3 separate regions of the Homo sapiens genome follow, and all the other regions are linked to region 1. Evidence: promoter capture Hi-C in 16 types of primary human blood cells and fetal thymus (Javierre and others, 2016). All regions are on one chromosome and are shown on one strand. The core of a region is centred on a gene start or on the middle of the fragment in contact, and the rest is flanking DNA. Distances in the headings are between cores, read along the strand shown.

What was found. The method cuts DNA at HindIII sites, captures the fragments that hold promoters and counts their contacts. A CHiCAGO score of 5 or more calls a contact.
Region 2: a fragment that was not itself captured here is called in contact with the fragment with the promoter of BCORL1 in region 1 in 1 of 17 cell types (naive CD4 T cells); the score reaches 5.3 in naive CD4 T cells.
Region 3: a contact is called between a fragment that was not itself captured here and the fragment with the promoter of BCORL1 in region 1, in 3 of 17 cell types (total B cells, naive CD4 T cells and fetal thymus). The highest score is 6.3, in total B cells.

The regions. Positions count from the first base shown.
Region 1 is chrX:129,981,059-129,984,481 of GRCh38, forward strand. BCORL1 (BCL6 corepressor like 1) reads left to right here and starts at 1,577. Exons shown (of 14, transcript NM_001379451.1): 1 at 1,577-1,704. RefSeq lists a silencer at 2,406-2,642. The HindIII fragment of the contact is 8,398 bases long and covers 1-3,423 here.
Region 2 is chrX:130,915,963-130,919,385 of GRCh38, forward strand. No RefSeq gene overlaps it. Among named protein-coding and RNA genes, the nearest start is that of ENOX2, 14 kb to the left of the region's middle. The HindIII fragment of the contact is 4,302 bases long and covers 1-3,423 here.
Region 3 is chrX:130,897,975-130,901,397 of GRCh38, forward strand. The region is part of intron 2 of ENOX2 (ecto-NOX disulfide-thiol exchanger 2); the gene reads right to left. Among named protein-coding and RNA genes, the nearest start is that of ENOX2, 3.5 kb to the right of the region's middle. The HindIII fragment of the contact is 3,898 bases long and covers 1-3,423 here.

The sequences.
Region 1 (3,423 bases), core at 327-2,826:
GCCCGGGCTTCCCGGGCTCTGGCCGCCTCACGCGCACAAATGGGGCTAGGGGACTGAGTGGTAAGCAACTCCGAGTGTTAGACGGTGATCGGGCGGCGATTCCGGGAAAAGCGAGGAAAGACACAGTCTGCGATTGTGCCGCACCCCCCACCCACCTCTTAGCATCTGGATTCTGCTCTCGTAGTGGGGGCCGCGGACCCTCCCCGCCACAGTCCTTTTACTCTCCAGCACTCCCACCGCCTTCCCCCTTCTTCAGCCATCTGACTCTCCTAGGGGTATGTGTTTTTGGGGGTGGACGGCGACGGGGGTGGGGGATACTTTCCTTCCCGTGGCGGCAACCTAGTTCGTATCTTATTCCTACAAGGTAGCGTCGCTTCGAGTCGCATGGACATTGGGGTTTAGATAATTTACCCCCCACCCAAGCGATTTAATGGCTTTTAAGCAAAAGGCGAATACCTGGATTTCCATGGGAGGGATGAGGTTTGAAGATTGGGATTCACCCCTAGCTCACTTCCACTACCAACCCCTCTTTCTTGTGAGCCACTTCCACGGGTATTCAAATCTGGGGGGGAGGGGGGACGGGAGTATTAATATGCTTCTCTATTTCTACACAGGGTCGGCGTGGCGAAGGACGGCTAGCCTTGGAGGGAAAGTAGCCACCAGTCCAACTCGGGTCGCCCCCACCATTATTTCGGTGAGGGGGCAACGCTAAGAAGGGGATACTGGTGGGTAGGGGCCCAGTATAAGGGAGGGGGCTGGGTAGTCGTCCCCAGAAGGACTCCGTGTCTTGGCGGGGAGAGAGAGAGGCGAGCCCCGGCTTCAGGGGAGGGGTTCCGGGGAGGGAGATGGGGGGGTGGCGACGACGGTGGGGGGGGGAGCGGGAAGAAGGGGGAGTCACGCCCTGCCTGCAAGGGGAGCCTCCCTCAGGCCCCTGGGAGAAGGGGACTGAATGCGTCTGTTCTCCGCTGCCCGGCAGAGGAGATCTGGGGTCTCGAGATTTGCACACTGGATCGGCACCAGTGGCCTGAGAAAGTCAGGTCGGGGCATAAGGTGGAGAACGTTGGAAGAAAGAGAGAGAACCCTTTGGCCGCGGCTCACTGACCCTCTCCCTTCCTCAACCTCCCCCTTCGAGGGGCGTCGAGGTGGGGGGGGACGTGGGGCTCCTGCAGCCCCGCAGATTGAGCGCCTCCGCCTCTCCCAGGAGTCTAGCTTTTTGCCCGGCTTGCTGCAGCCACTGCTGCCTCCCTCTCCGGAATCCGCTCGGTCCTCTCAGCGATCCCCTCCTCCTCTCCTCCCCTCCCAGTGTCACCGGGGCTGCTTGGCTCTGCCCCCTTCGCCGCCGCTTGCTCCCTGCTTTCGTCCCTCCCTCTCTTGCTCGCTCCCTCCCTTCGCCTCCTCCTCCCCATTCCCCCCCACCCGCGTAGGCCGCATTCTGGGAGTTGTAGTCCGGTGGAGCGGGGGTTGGCGCCGCCCGCGGACCCAGCCGGACTCCACTTCCCGTCGAGCCCTGCGACCGGCACCCACTCCACCAGGCTTCGCTCGCACACAGACACACACACACACCGCTCTCCCCCTCACTCTTTCGCTCGCCGCGGCTGCTGCCAGTGTGTGGCTCTGTCTCTCCTCCGCTTTGCTGAGCCCTCCCTTCTTCCTCTCAGTTCCTAGAGTCCGACCGCCGCCGCCGCCGAGAGAGAGGAGAAGGAGGTCGGTGGCGATAAGGGGCGGAGGGGGGCATCAGATCGGGGCAGTATTAGGCGGGTGGCGGTTAAGAGGGAGTAAGAGGGAGCCCGGGTGGCGGCCTGAGCCTCCCCGCGGAGCCGACCCGGGAACAGGTGCGTCTTTTTTCTCTCTCCCCCAATCCCTCCACCCCTTTTGACTCCCCGGCTTTTTCGTATCCCCCCACCCGCTTCTTTCTATCTTAAGCCTTTCTCCAACCCTGTTCCTTCTTTTCCCTGCGGCCGCTCGGCTTGCCCCCCGGGGGCGCCGTCCTCTTCGTGTCCCCGGACGTAGCGCTCCCTGGAGCTGGGTATGTCTTCGCCCCTCCCTTCGGGACAGCTCCCTTCCACTTCCCACCTTCGTACCCCATCCCCTGACTTGCCCTACCCCCTTCTCGACCCCCTTCTCTCTTAGCCAGGTGAGACTCGTTCGCCACGATCCAAGAGAGTCTTCTTCCCGGCTGGGCGGGGGTCTCCATGGAAACGGGGGTCGGTTGATCCTGGGGGGGAAACCATAGGAATTACCCCACTCCTCGGAAAGGGAGGTGGAGGCTATGGTCTTGTTAACTACCTGACTCCAACCCCCGATCCAAGGATCCGACGATCCGAAGGGAGGCTGGCTAGCAGGGCAGGGCGAGAAAAGGCTTTTTTTTGGGGGGGGGGGGTGTCCGTGATGAAGTGTTGAAGAGACCGGGAGAAAATGCCCTCCAACCTCAGAGGGGAGGTGCGACGGGTGCTCTTCAGGGCTGCTTTCTTCCCGGCGCTGGGGTGCGGGAATCGTAGGGTAAGGGGTACCCCTAGGTGGCGGCGGGGCCTGGGTTCGGGAGTGGGAGTGCTGTGATGGGGGCAGGGGCAATTATCCGAGTCCCTGGAAAAAAGGCGGGGGATGACTTCGGAGCGCCCTGGCTCCGCTGCCCTCGCTCTAGGGGCGGGGGCCGCCGGGCCGGGCGCGGCGGGGAGGGGGCTTAAATTGAAGGAAGATGAGATCGGGGGCAATTCATACTAGCACCGGCAAGCCAGAGGGGAGATCCGGCGTGCAAGCCCTCCACCCGCTTCGCGCCAGGCCTGGAGGCAAGGGGTCGGCGAGCGAAGCCGAGGGCTGGAAGGAGGGAGGCTCCGGTTACGGGGCCGGGTTTCGGGATCAGGGGCAATCCCCCGGCCCTTGGAGAAGGAGGGAGAGGGATGGCCGCGAACCCCAGGGCTCCCCCACCCCGGGTCCTAAGGGGCGTGAGGGACGGACAGCAGGCCCAGCGGAGCTGGATTCGAGCGGATCGCGGCCGGGGAGTGGGAGGGCTTAGTGGTGGGCTTCGGGGGGAGCAGTCCGGCGGCGGGGCGGGCGGGCGGGGCGTGGGGCTCCGGCGGGCGGCGGGGCGGGGCCGGGGGCGGCGCTGCTGCCGCCGCCGCTGCCGCCGCCGCCGCTGCTGCTCCTGCTGGGGCCGCCGCAGCCGTTGCCGCCGCCGCCGCCGCCGCTTCTGGGCGGGGAACGGAGGCCAAAGAGAGTCCCGTGCCGGGGCAGAGGGCGCAGGCGGCGCGCGGTGGGGAGGGGGCCGTCCTGGGGGCGGGGGCAGGCGGGGGGGTGGAGCCCCCGACGGGGGGCGGTACGAGCCGGGACGACGACGACGAGGAGCCCCGGGGGCCGGGTGCATGGAGGACGAGGTGCTGGGAGAAGGAAGGGGGGTGTGGGTCCCGCGACTGGCCTCGTGGGCTT
Region 2 (3,423 bases), core at 312-2,811, 930 kb after region 1:
TAGGTGCTGTTCCAAGCGCTTTACAAGGAATAACTCTTTTTTGCCTTATTATAACCTTATTATGATAGCAATTATTATTATTTTCTTTTAAAGTTGTGGAAACTGAAGCGTATTAAGCACTCTCCAGCCACCAATTTTTCTCAGAGGTTTTTGTTTTGTTTGTTTGTTTGTTTGAGACAGAGTCTCACTCTGTTGCCCAGGCTGGTGTGCAGTGGCGCGATCTCAGCTCACTGTAACCTCTGCCTCCAGGGTTCAAGCAATTCTCCTGCCTCACCCTCTCGCGTAGCTGGGATTACAGGCGCCTGCCACGAGATGCCTATTTTTAGTAGAGACGAGGTTTCACCACGTTGGCCAGGCTGGTCTCGAACTCCTGACCTCAGGTGATCCACCTGTCTTGGCCTCCCAAAATGCTGGGATTACAGACGTGAGCCACTGCACCTGGCCAGAGTTTTTTTTTTTTTTTTCTTGTCTTCATTCTTTCCCTGTACCCTGAAACTCACCTTGATCTGCCTTGCCTGGGAATAACATTTTATTCCAATAATGTTCTATATATAATGTTCTATATAATTCTGGAGTCAAGGTACCTTGGAAATCTAGCCAACCATAGCTAACTAATCTTTCTTTCTGCCCCTATCAGCCTCATAGACATGTCCTCAGTGGGACATCTTCCAGGAAGTACCAAGGAGTGGCTTTGGGGAAATAGGGAGAGATGGTTAGAAGAGCAACTCTTCCCGAGCAAAAAGAATTAAGAGGACTTATACAGCCTTTTGAAAGTGTGGCAATGGGATACTTTGTCTTAGAGAAGAGCTTCCTGGCCCAAGTGCTGGAAAGGAAGGATGAGGGAAGGTGGAAACACACGGATGAAAGTATGGGCAGGGCTGTAACCTTAGTCAATGGGCTAGGATGGCCCATGCACGGTGGTTTGGGGTAGACCTTAAATAAAAAATAAAAACTCTTCTCCCATAACAAAGTCTTGTTTGGTTGTCCAGGAAGCCCCCCACAGAATTCAAACGCCTCTGGGAAGTTTGGTGCAGAGCTTATGGGCTTTTCGCATTCTCTGGTGCCACCTGGTGGACAACAAGAGGTAATGAGATGGGATCTAGGAAATTGGGCAGTTCAGTTTGGAAGGGAGGAGAGGGGAAGTGAAGCTGGACCAGATGATTAGTGCTGTAGTGGGCAGGCACTGAGGGGACCCAGTGCACCCACAGGAAAATTGGGTTCCTGGTGAGGCTGATGGAGTCAAAGAGTGTAGACCGTTAGAGATAATATATGTAAAGACCCTGATCTACAGGCCAACTGTAACAGCATCAAAAGGTAGTGTTTACTACTTACCACATGCCAGACTGTGTTATTAACTTTTTCATGAATTTTTTAAAATTTAATTCTTCCAGCCACACTTTGTAGCATCCCCATTTTGCAGATAAGTTAAAGTGAGGCTCAGCGTTAGTGGCAGAGACAATGTTCAAGGTTTTAATCATTATGCCATAAATTGTAGTTGTTGCCAATATTGTGATATGATGTGAAATTAGAGATATGAAGGAGGATCCTTAAGTACTTCAAATCTGAGTCAAGTAGGCTTTGATGCCAGTGGGAGAAAAGGGAAGGAGAAGTGTCATATACACCACCATCTCTACCTTATCCACCTTCAAATATGGGGAAACAAAACAAAAGCAATCTAGAATTCACCTACCCACTGTCTCAGCCAGTAAGCACATTTTAGGCACCTATTCTATCCAGAGCTTTGTGGGACAAAATGGCATTTGCCCCCAGGAGTCCTGATATGCCAGCATTACTCGTTTCTCCCCACCCCTATCTCCAGGTCTTCTAAAGTCCTCAGGTGGGGAGCATGTTGGTGAGTCTTTCAGAAAACACTGTCCCATAGGGAATAAAAGACAAAAAATAAATTCCATCTATATGTTGATTGAGGAATTAGGAAATGTCTTGGTTTAAAAAAAATAGGAGAAGCAAAAGAAATCAGAAAACATTGAGCACCTGCTATATGTTAGCTAGGCCCTATGCTGAGTGCTTGACAACAGAATTTTATCTAATCCTTCCAACTTCTGTGAGGCAGGTCTCTAAATATTGCCGTTTGAAAGTGAGGATAACTGAGGATCAGGGAGGTTAGGCAACCTCTCTATAGTCACACAGCTAATCAGTAGGGGAACTCTGTATGGCCGCAAAACCTATGCTGTTTTAGAATGAAGGGAGGAGGGTATTTATTTTTCCTTTTTATTGTGGAAAAGTTCAATCAAATGAAAAATAGAAGTAATAGTATAATGAAGTCCCTTTTACCCATTACCTAGTTTCAATTACAGTTAGCACATACTCAATCTTATTTCATCTGTTCTCCCATTCACCCCCTCCCACAAAACTGGATTATTATAAGTAAATTCCACACATCATTTTATTTTATCCACAACATTTTCAGGCTGCATCTCTAAAAGATATGGACTTTTAACAAAACATGACTAAAATACTGTTATCACAGCTGTAAAATTAATACTAATTCTTTCATATGATCAAATATATATTTTGTGTTTAAATTCCTCCTATCATCTCATGTCTTTTCTCATTATATTAGTCCATTTTCACACTGCTGATAAAGACATACCCAAGACTGGGAAATTTACAAAAGAAAAAGGTTTAATTGGACTTACATTTCCACGTGGCTGGGGAAGCCTCACAATCATGGAGGAAGGCAAGAAGGAGCAAGTCATGTCTCATATGGATAGCAACAGGCAAAGAGAGAGAGAGCTTGTACAGGGGAACTCCTCTTTTTAAAACCATCAGATCTCATGAGACTTACTATCACGAGAACAGCACAGGAAAGACTTGCTCCCATGATTCAATTACCTCCCAGTGGGTCCTTCCCACAACATATGGAAATTCAAGATGAGATTTGGGTGGGGACAGAGCCAAACCATGTCATTCCACCCCTTGCCCCTTCCAAATCTCACATCCTCACATTTTAAAATCAATCATGCCTTCCCAACAGTCCCCCAAAGTCTTAACTCATTTCAGCATTAACTCAAAAGTCCACAGTCCAAAGTCTCATCTGAGACAAGGCAAGTCCCTTCTGCCATGAGCCTGTAAAATCAAAAGCAGGTTAGTTACTTCCTAGATACAGTGGGGGTACAGACATTAGGTAAATACAACCATTCCAAATGGGAGAAATTGGCCAAAACAAAGGGGCTACAGGTGCCATGCAAGTCCAAAATCCAACAGGGCAGTCAAATCTTAAAGCTCCAAAATGATCTCCTTTGACTCCATGTCTCACGTCCAGTTCACGCTGATGCAAGAGGTGGGTTCCCATGGTCTTGGGCAACTCTGCCTCTGTGGCTTTGCAGGGTACAGCCTCCCTCCCGGCTGCTTTGATGGACTGGCATTGAGTGTCTGCAGCTTTTCCAGGCTCACGGTGCAAGC
Region 3 (3,423 bases), core at 473-2,972, 920 kb after region 1:
AGACAATGGTGGACACCGGGAAAACATTTTAAAATAACTTTTTTTTTTTTTGAGACAGAGTCTCACTCTGTCTCCCAGGCTGGAGTGTAGTGGTGCAATCTTGGCTCACTGCAACCTCCGCCTCCTGGGTTGAAGCAATTCTCCTGCCTCAGCCTCCCGAGTAGCTGGGATTACAGGCGCATGCCATCACGCCCGGCTAATTTTTGTATTTTTAGTAGAGACGGGGTTTCCCCATGGTGGCCAGCCTGGTCTCAAACTCCTGACCTCAGGTGATCCGCCTGCCTTGGCCTCCCAAAGTGCTGGGATTACAGGTGTTAAGCCACTGTGCCTGGTCAAAATAACTTTTTAAAAATTAACAAATATACTGTAGATTAGAAAATAAAAATACGCAAAAGGTTAAAAGTAGAAGTCATATGCAATCTTACTACTTGCAGCAAACCCCTATTAATATTTTTTTGTGTGTTTACCATTACAGGATTTTTCCTATGTATGCCTACACAGATGTGTGTGTGCGTGTGCGTGTGTGTGTGCGTGTGTGTGTGTGTATTATGTATATGTTTTTAAACTGGGATCTGTCACTCTGTACTGAGAGTTCTATGATGTGAATTTTCTCTTAATATATCAAAAACAATTTTCCACATCATTAAATATTGTTTGGTAAAATCAACTTACAAGGCTACTTAGTAATCCATTCTATAAATGTACCACAATTGATTTCATTCAAATCCCTAGTATTGTACATTTAAGATGTTCTTTTTTTTCTTTTTTTTTTTTTTGTTGTTTTTGCTATTAGTATAAACAACTCTGGGATAGATGTCCTGAGTATTAAATTTTTGGAAACATCATGATTGTTTCCTCAGCATAGAGCTCTAGAAGTTGAAGTGGTAGGTTAAAAGCTGTATTCTATTAAGGTTTCTGATACATATTGACGAATTGCTCTCCAGAAGAGCTGTATCAAATTATAGTCCCAGCAGCAGAGTCTATGAGTAGGAGATGAACTTGAGAGTGATGTCAAGGACGGAGTGTACTGGACTTGGGTGGGTAGAAGGAAGGATGTTTCCTGGCAAAGTATCAGGGCAGGAGGAAGATGAACTCTGTCAAGAGCAGCAAAGTAATGGGCAGGGCTAAGGAATAGGTGCCTGGATAGGTAAATGATAGGAAAGAAAAAGGTAAGATAACCAGGGGAGAGTGAAGAAAAGAGGGAAAAAGTAGGTCTTTCATGAAATTATGGGCACTTTAATTTACTCCTTTCTTCAGCAAAAGTAGCAAATGTAGCAAACAGCTAGTCTTTTCATAGCATTTGGCACTCTGTGCTACCAAGGTCCCCAGTTATATTCATGCAAATCTGTTTATCAATTCTTTTCACCCAATAACCATTTATTAGGTGACTACCATGTGTCAAGTGCTCTTCTGGATGCTATGGGTATGGAGATGAATGAAACCTGGTCCCTGCCCTCAAGGAGTTCACAGTCTAGTGGGGAACACAGAGACATCCACAGACCGACACCCTACAGTGTGGTACAGGCTAGGACGGAGGTAACTAAGTGCAGGGTCCTGTGGAAGCCCGAGGCCTAACATTGCCTTGTGCGTGCATTCATGTATGTTGGGCAAGGGCTGTCGGGAAGGCTTCACAGAGGTGTTGACATATGAGCTGAGTCTTAAAGGCTGAGGAATTTCTTGCATGCCTAAGGGTCACAGATCATGGTCATATTCCTAATCAGTGCCTTGAATATTTGTGCTACTGCTCTCAAGGACACTGAGTAAGGTGGGAAGGATGTTTGTGTGTAATCCAAATCCACTCGAGTGGTAACTATAGCTTCCATTGTAATCTTAATGAACATAGAAACATAGCATGTTTTGGCAATATTATTGCTCACCATACAATATAAAGGACAAGAGGCAAGGGGGGCATGCAGACTTTTAAAACAATTCTGGTAACACTGACAAAATAATATTAACATCCACCAAGTCCTAATAATTTTACCTCCTAAATGTTTCTCAAATCTCTTCGCTCCGCTCACGTCACTACTCTTGGGTCTTTATTGTCTCTCTGTGGAACAGAGTAGCAGCCTCATCATATCCACCTCCACTGTATCCTTCCCACTGTCATTTTCCTTACAGTAAAAATCTGATCGTGGTGCTCTTCTAAAACATGTTAATGGTTTCTTATGGCCTACAAGCAGCACTTCCCAAATTTCAGTCTGAGTATTACTTAGTGATTTTTACCATATTCACACACAATGTGTACTATTACTACTTAATATTTGTCTTTAAATGAACTGAAAACTGGTTCACTTTCTATTTTTATGAAGTAAAATCCAAAGTAATCTTAGATGTGATGGCTTAGTTCAGTTTTATGTTTTTTAAGACATATTTGAACATGTAACTAGTAAAATTAAAATGTTTGTGGGAGCACAGTGTAACTACCACTGGCAGATGCCCTACGTTTTGAGAACCACTGACCTATGGGGGCACATTCCAACTTAGGATTGCAATCAAGGTTCTTTGCAAATCAGCCCCAACCTCTTTCCAGACTCTTCTCCTACCCATTACAGTTTCCTTTTACTCAACTATCTGCACTCCAACCATGCTGAATTCTTCCACATTGAATGAACATGCCCTACTCTTATACAGCCACACATCTTTCACAGACTGACTCCTCTATCTGAAATGCCTCCCCTCCACTCCTTCCCTGCCTGGGGCAAACTCACTATCCTTCAAGACCTATCTCATGTCACCTCCTCATGGAAGCCTTCTCCCCGAGTCTCCCTTACAGTGAGTCACACCTTCCTTTATCCCTCCATAGCATTTTGTACCTGTCTCTGTTATACTACACACTACAGTATCTCAGAACTGTGGGCATCCAGCTCCCCAGCTAGACCCCAGGAAGAGTTCACACCTTGTACTTCATTGTTTCTCCAACACTTCACGTGGGCAGAGGTCATGAAAGAGATCTAGTGTCCCAGGTAACTTCTTAAAATGCTAAAATAAAATACATCCAAAGTGCTATCAAGGTCCAAATAGCTTAGAGGTATGATATGTGTTATAAAGAGAATCATCTAATTCAGAAATAGCCGTACTGACTATGGTTTTGGCAGACACAATTAGCTACAGTTGCAATGACAGTTAATTTGGTTTTGGCAGCTACTTTACAGCAAATACATTCTGACATAGAAATTTTAAGTGAATCATTTGGGTTTTGGCCAGGATGATGAACTATACCTATCTCTCCTTACCACAACTGGAAAGTCAAGAACAAGAAAGAACATTGGGAGCAGCAAACCATGTTGAACAGAGCATGGGCTTTGGAGTCAGAAATCTGTACACCCAAACCTCAACTCAACTTATAATCTATGTGACTTTAAGTAGATTGTTTAACTTCTGTGCATTTTAGTGTTTTCTTCTAGAAAAAGAAACAGGAAT